Linked DNA regions of Homo sapiens: region 1 is linked to region 2. The links are contacts of gene promoters, found by promoter capture Hi-C in human tissues and cell types (Jung and others, 2019). All regions are on one chromosome and are shown on one strand. Each heading gives the region's core, a stretch centred on a gene start or on the middle of the fragment in contact. The rest is flanking DNA. Distances are from core to core; before and after follow the strand shown. Region 1 overlaps SYNPR (synaptoporin). Region 2 holds the start of THOC7 (THO complex subunit 7).

Region 1 (3,663 bases), core at 931-3,430, 490 kb after region 2:
CAGTTGCCTCTGGGAGCTCCCTCTCAGAGATACACAGAGCCATTGCTACTGGAAATGTTCAGCCAGGGATGGGGTGGCTGTGCTGCTGGCTCAAGCTGGGGCCTTCACTTGGTGAGAAGCAGGGGGTGGAAGGCTCACAGGGAGGAGTGACTGGACTCTTGTCTATGGTGACTGTGTCATGCTGGACATAGTCTTTGTTTTTATGTGTTTTTGTTTTTTCTCAGACTGAGGGCAGCAGTGGCAGAACCACTGTCGTGGCAGTGGCAGAGGGGCTGTTGGTCACTCTAAGATCCCTTTTCCAGGGAAACATAGAGCCTCTACCTGTGGATATACTCAGCCATGCATGGGATGGCTGTTCTGTGGTCCCAAGCCGGGGGCTCAGTCTGGTGAAGAGTGGGGATTGAGGGCTTGCAGGGAAGAGAGACTGGGCTCCTCTCTGCATGGTGGCTGTTGTGTGTGGGAAATGCCAGCATAGCAACCAGGTCCTTTGTTCCTTCCCCATCCTGAGGGTGGTTAGGGTGGTACTACTGCAGTTCCAGTGGCAGACGGGCTGTGGGTTGTCTCTGTGATTTCCTCCTCAGTGAAATGTAGAACCGCCTCCGACTAAAGTGTTGAGGTGGGGCCAGAGTGGTTGTGCTAGAGTCCGAGGTCCAGGGTCCCACTCAGTGAGGAGAAGTTGGAACGAGGACTCAGGTGGAAAAGAGTCTGGCCACTTCTCTGTGGGGCAGCTGTGCTGCACTGGGGAGCTGTATCAGTCTCAAATCACCACGCACCTTCTAGAACCTGAGGGCAGCAGCAATTAGGGCTGCAGGGCAGCAAAAATAGTGGCTTGCATCTCCCTCTGGGAGCTCCGTCCCAGGGAAGTCAGAGCTGCTACTGGTCTGAAAGCCCAGGCAGTAGGTGGCTGGAGTCCCAGGCCAGTGGGCCTTATCCTGCAAGGTGAAACCTGAAGTTCATCACTGCTCAGCCTCATGAAATTTGCCTCTTTCCCGGAGACGTGCAAGGGAGCCTGACCTCCCCCACTGCCAGAGCTGCAGTGGCTAATGCCAGGATGCCTGGGGATCCAAGGCTCCTAGGACTCCATGTGTGCATGAGTGACTTCTCTTACCAGACTCCACAGAGCTCTCGGTGTCAGTCTGGAGGCCCCTGTGGGGTGGGCTCACAGGGGGATCTCCTGAGCCCAGGGTTGCAAAAGTCCATGGTAGAAGTGTGGGTTCCTGGGGACTGTCACTCACTCATCATTTTTCCGAGGTATGGGGGCCTCCTCTGGCTCTATGCCATCCCAGGTGGGTGGTTGTCTTGTCTCATTCCTCTCTTTCATTCGTGGGTTGTTTCCTTGATGAATCGCAATGTGTCCACCTGAATGTTCCAGTTAAAGGTCTAGGGTTTACTCACCACTGTTTCTTCTGTCCGTGAGAGCAGTGCACGCTAGCTCCTTCTAGTCAGCCATCTTGGCTCTCCCCCATATTTAAATTCTAATTCAACAATAGGGATTAGAGGATATTTTCTGGGTTTATGAATCCACTGTGTTTATATAGGGGTCTTTCTCTAACTCAGTACTCTAAATTTTTACAAGGTTCTCACCTATGAATTCAAAGTTTAACCTGATAGCATAAAATATAAAATTACTCCTTACTGTCTCCAGCGGGTCTGGATATCTAAACAACCTCAAAATTGCAGAAGAGTAAAAGATATTATTTTGTAACCCACAAAGTGCTGAGAGATCCATCTAGAAATTATGCCCCCAGACTAAAAATTTCCAGCTATGCCCACAAATCATAGACAAAAGGCCATGTGGTATTTGTCCATTTTAAACACCACAGTATACAATTACCACAGTTAAGTTTCAGCATAATTTTTTGGGCGAGTACAAATTCCACTTTTCAGACATCTACAGAAGTAAGATTATGAAGTTCTATTAAGAGGAAGTATCCAATAGATTCTTTATTGGCACACTAGACAGCTTGTCAATGTGTTTTTTGAAAACTCACCTAAGAAACAATGAAAGGATTAAATAAATCCCAGATGGGAGCAGAGTCAATCCTTTCAGAGCAGTCTCAAGGGCCTGATTTTCTAAATGAAATCTTGCCAAGTTTAAAATATCATTGTTCCCATCTTGGGCTAGCTTTGGAAAAAAACATCTTCCACAGGGCAGAGAACTGCCTCCCCTAGGGAAGCTTTTAGAGGATAAAGGGGGATTAACATGTCCACTTCATGTGGACATCTACAAATTTCTCTCATTTACGTATCTCCTCCAGCTGTCTAGCTGCTTGCTGATTATGTGCACTATCAAAAATCAGAAAGAATGTGGATTATCTACAAGGACAGAGCCTCACAAACAGGTTTTAAATTTTATTCCCTGCTTTAGATAGTAAGATTCAAATGAAGTAACTCAAAATGGTTCATTCATGACCCTCTTTTCAAAATGGTCATGAGATAAGACGAGAACCTGAAGAAGCTCCAAGAATCTTTGGATTCCTTAGGTGAGGAAGAAAATTCTTCTTAGTCTTCATGAACTCAAATCAACCTCAGAATTCCATACAGTGTTAAGGAAACATAAAGGGAGTCTAAAAATGTTCTAAAAATATAAGCAAAATATGGTATTAGCTGATTGATTGTTGTCCCAATTACAATTAAATAAAAAATAATGACATGGAAGGCTTTGAGAGCAATGTCAAAGCCTCTCTGCTTCGCCTTCACACCAGTGGGTAGTGGTTTGTTAAGAGACAACAACACAAAGACAGCAAAATGGAAAATTGATTCCATCTTACGAAGCTTGAACACCAGGTTCCAAACTTTAAAGCATTGGATTGGTGCATCCAGTGGGAAAACACAAATATTAAAATGTTTTAGAAAAGTAAAAGATAAAGAAATATCACATAGCTTATGTTATTTGGCCATAAGCATTTAATTGTTTTAACTTTTCAATTGATTTTATGTTGTTTTTGCAGGTACATATATTCTCTGAGATCTACTTTCCCTATACTGGGTGCTCCTCTTTCCACACTTAACCCCCTCCTCCATTTTGCAGACTCTATCAGTTTGCTCAGGCTGCCAAGGCAAAATGATTTTGACAACAGAACTTTATTTTCTCAGAGTTCTGGAGGCTGGAGTCCAGGATCAAAGTGTCAGCAGAGTTGGATTCTCCTGAGGTCCCTGTCCTTAGCTTGCAGACAGCCACCCTCTTGTTGCCTCTTCACATGGCCGCCTTTTGTGCATGCATGTTCCTGGTGTCTCTTTCACTTCCTAAAAGGACACCAGTCATATTGGATTAAGTTCCCACTCTAAGGGCCTCATTTTAACTTAAACTCCTCTTTAAAGACCTTACCATTAAATACAGTGACATTCTGAGATATTGGGGGTTAAGACATCAAATTGTGAATTTTGCAGACACATGATTTAGCTCATAACACAGACCATGAGTACAGAGGATTTATTTCTCCCTATCTTGACAACAACAGCATCTTCATGTAAGGTGTCCTTCTCAACTCTAAGAAATGTCCTTGTTGAAGCTTTGTTTGAATGTCTATCAACAACACAATCACTTGTCAAATCTTCACAATCTGACTTGAAGCAACACTGTATAAATAAAATACCTCTTTCCAAAACTGTCAATAAACTTCTTCAGCCAAAATCAAAGGCCATTTTTTTCATTCTATCTTT
Region 2 (3,793 bases), core at 1,287-3,786:
AGTTCCAGGCTGCAGTGAGCCCTGATGATCGTGCCACTGCACTCCAGCCTAGGCAACAGAGGAAGGTCCTGTCTCAAAAAAAAATAAAATAACTTTCAGGAATGTTTATTTTCAGGTACAGCTCAAACTTTAAAGTCTTTCAAATTCCTCTTGGTCTTATTACTCCAGAAAATTTCTAGCATCATCCAACAAAATTATAGGTTATCAAATTAACTTATAGAAATGTTTGAACAGCACTCCATTTATGAATAACTCAGAGAGTATCTCACGAAAATTTAAGTTACAGGGGGCAGTGATACTTTCCCATGAAAATATTACAGATTATTTTAAATCACTGACACTGTTTCAAAATCAGTATTATGATAAGATTAAGAAACACTTAAAAAAAACTTTTCACCACATGACAATTACTTTCTTTTTTTTTTTTTTTTTTTTTTTTTTTTTTTGAGATGGAGTCTCGCTCTGTCGCCCAGGCTGGAGTGCAGTGGCGGGATCTGGGCTCACTGCAAGCTCCGCCTCCCGGGTTCACGCCATTCTCCTGCCTCAGCCTCCCAAGTAGCTGGGACTACAGGCGCCCGCCACTACGCCCGGCTAATTTTTTGTATTTTTTTTTAGTAGAGACGGGGTTTCACCGTTTTAGCCGGGATGGTCTCGATCTCTTGACCTCGTGATCCTCCCGCCTCGGCCTCCCAAAGTGCTGGGATTACAGGCGTGAGCCACCGCGCCCGGCCGACAATTACTTTCTAAACAATAACTATCCCCACCAAAATGCAACTTGGTATTGTGAACCCCAATCAATTGACAATTTCAGTTTACAATCTGTAGTACTTAAGATTTAAAACAATTCTTCTCTTAGAGTGCCCTGTCTCCTAAAACCAAGGAAATGAACAGGGTCTGATGATGCCCACCTACAGCCAGCGTTTAGGTCAGTATTTTTTCAAAGTCGGAAACTTCATACCTTAGGGGAGAGCAAGTCACATCTCAGAATCTTCATGTAAAGTAATTTTTGTCTTTGTGACAAAAGTCAAGTTCTTGAGCACTAATTCTTGAGAGCACTGTAATGGTATTATTGAAGTCACTGGTCTCACATAATATGACTAAAATTGTACATATTTCTTGCTAGAGGTTAAACACACTTCACTTTAATACATTTGCATCTGCAACTTCTCCTCTTTGAAAGAACTGGGGGAAAACAGGGAGAATGTACCTAAATTTAGTAAGGAAAGTGAAACAACCAAGTTTATCCTACACAACTTCTTCATCCCGGATATGAAGATGCAAGATCTACTTGGGGGACAGGAAAATTGGAAAACAACGGTATGGCTGAATAAAATAACAAACCTGGGTTCAAAATGAGACACGATCCTGGTGCTAATCGTATCTATCCCACTGGAGGTCAAATCAGCTGCACTGGTGCCTGTTTCCTCATCCACCTCTCACCACCTAAACGTGCCATTTACGAGAAAGCTATCGAAGTTGAATCAAAGTGACTTTTGGAAAGAGATGCCAATATAATTTGCAGTGTGCTCCAAACAACTACACACAAGGCAACGTTTCTCATTGAGCACCCCCGCCCCCACTTTCAACTTCCCCTTAAGATAGGGACAGTCACATAGACATTTTTTGAAAATCAAAGAGAAAAATAAAAGCACCCCATCACGATCACCGACGAAATCCCGACTCTGTGGTGGAATTGGGTGCCGGGTGAGGACGATGGCAACACGCTCCTGGTCGCTTCGCGAACTCCTCCGGGAGGTCGCCAAGTTTCTCTTTCACCCTTTTTCCCGCACCCGCCGAGCCCAGGAAGGAAGGGGGCGGCCGCAGGGGCCGGAACCGCGCGACCTGGAACCCGGGGCCTTTTTTGATTGCCGGCCGCGCCCCGCGCAAGTGCCGGCGTTCGAGACCCGCCCCAGCGCGCGTGGGCGCCAACTTCGCGGGGACCCCCAGCGACGCGCCCCCCTCGGTACCCCTAGTCCCGCCTCTCCTGGGCTCAGCCGGATCCGGGCGTCCCCGTCACCCTCCCCACCCCCCAGGGAAACGAGCCCACCCCTAGCAGCGTCACCCTGGATGGGGCGGCGGGGCCGCAGTCACCTTCCCGGGGAAGAAGCCGGGACCCCGACTGCGGGCGGCCCGCAGCTCCCGCCGCACCCCCGCAGCCCTGGCGGCGTCCGGGCGAGCTCACCTGGCGGCTGGCTGCGGCCTCCGGGGCGGCCTCTGGGCGTGGGCCGGGCGGGGGCTGCAAGGGGGGCGGCGGGAGCCCGGGCTGCAGCCGGGGCCGCCGCCGGCCGCCAAGCCTCGCCCCAACTCGCGCCGGCCGCGGCCGCCCCCGGGGAGTACCGGGAGCGCGGGGAGCGCGGGTCCCGCGGCGGCGGCGGCGGCGGCGGCGGCGCGGCGCGGCGCGGCTCAGGCGTCGGAGCAGGCGGCCGCGGGCGCCGCCGCCTCCTCCTCCATGGCTGTTTACCCGGCTGCATTGTGGGAGTTTGACCTCCGCCGCCGCCAACCGCCGCCTCAGCTTGCGCCGCCGCCGCCGCCGCCGCCGCCGCGCACGCCATGGGAGCCGTGACTGACGGTGAGGCCCCGCTCGCCGCCACACGCGCCCGCTGCACGGCCCGCTGGGCCTCCCCTGAGACCCCTGGCCTCCCGGCCCGCTTCCGGGAACCCCTCGGCCTCCCCGGCCTCTTCGCCAGAGCGCTTCGGCCTTCCCGACCTCTCCCCGGAGCCCCGGGCCTCCCCGGCTGCTTCCCTGAGTCCTTCCTCCTCTCGCCAGAGCCCGAGCGCCCCTCGGAGACCCTCGGCTTTCCCCGTCCGCTCTCCCGGAGGCAGCGCGGGGCTATAGGGTGTGCCGGGAGCGTGGTCGGTGGGCTGGGAACACACGTGGGTGGCCGAGACGGCTAGAAGCGGTGCAAGGGCGGGTGGGACCAGAGGGAGTCCGGGTTTGTCTAGGGGCGCGGTGAGGACCCAGGAGCCGCGAAGGGTGGACAGTGGTGCCGGGCTTAGGGCTGGGGGCCTGGAAGGTTTGTGGAGGTCTGGGAGGGAGTGGGAGCTCCAGGGACGGGGCGGGAATTTCGGGACTCGTCTACAAGGGGTGTCAGGATACAGAGCGTGACACCAGGAGGGGTCCTGGGGCATATTGGGAAGCACTCACAGACAGTGGAGTCGATGGCAATGAGGCCTTGAACTGCGAGTGGATTGTGGGTGAGAAGGAGGAGCAGGGAATTATTTATAAAAGGAATAGATAGGGATGAGGTATCCGGAGGGTGATCAGGAAGTGTACCTGGGAGATTTACGGGGGTAAGGAGGAGCCAGTATAGTGATGAGACCGTCTAGGGTAGATCAGGACGATAAAAGATGTATGTGTGTGTGTTAGGAAGGGTGGTTGTCAGCTGGGATGAATTTAGAGGGGCAAAGGCTGGGTTTGTGGACAGTCTAAGGGAGATGGTCTATGGACTGAGAGCGGAAATAAGGTGACACTTTGGGGGAAGGGGCATGATTGGCAACTGGAGGGAGAACCTACAAGGTATCTGGTTAGGGAGGAAGGAGGTCCTTTGATATCTGGGAAGGGGATATCTAGGGCTCTTGGGTGTTTTTCAGGAGATGGTGACCGGTAACTGTAAATGCCTGTGGAGAGGCCACTTCTTAAGAGTTGAAGACCACCAGGGTCTCCACATTAAAGGGCCTGGCCATGGGAAGAACAGTGATAGGCCCAAATTTCCAGACTGATAAAGAGTAGTGGAGGTGGGAGGCTACTAAAGACCCAGGAACTTCATGTGGAATTTCAGCTTTGCTTCATTCC

What was found. The method cuts DNA at HindIII sites, captures the fragments that hold promoters and counts their contacts. A contact is called where the count stands out against the background at its distance.
Region 1: a fragment that was not itself captured here is called in contact with the fragment with the promoter of THOC7 in region 2 in 3 of the 25 tissues and cell types used here (dorsolateral prefrontal cortex, hippocampus and mesenchymal stem cells).

What each region holds. Positions count from the first base shown.
Region 1 is chr3:63,368,728-63,372,390 of GRCh38, reverse strand. The region is part of intron 2 of SYNPR (synaptoporin); the gene reads right to left. Among named protein-coding and RNA genes, the nearest start is that of SYNPR, 92 kb to the right of the region's middle. The HindIII fragment of the contact is 3,775 bases long and covers 293-3,663 here.
Region 2 is chr3:63,862,548-63,866,340 of GRCh38, reverse strand. THOC7 (THO complex subunit 7) reads left to right here and starts at 2,536. Exons shown (of 8, transcript NM_025075.4): 1 at 2,536-2,569. The coding sequence starts at 2,551. ATXN7 (ataxin 7) reads right to left here and starts at 2,474. Exons shown (of 13, transcript NM_001377405.1): 1 at 2,183-2,474. RefSeq lists silencers at 1,798-2,017, 2,028-2,267, 2,598-2,817. The HindIII fragment of the contact is 20,525 bases long and covers 1-3,793 here.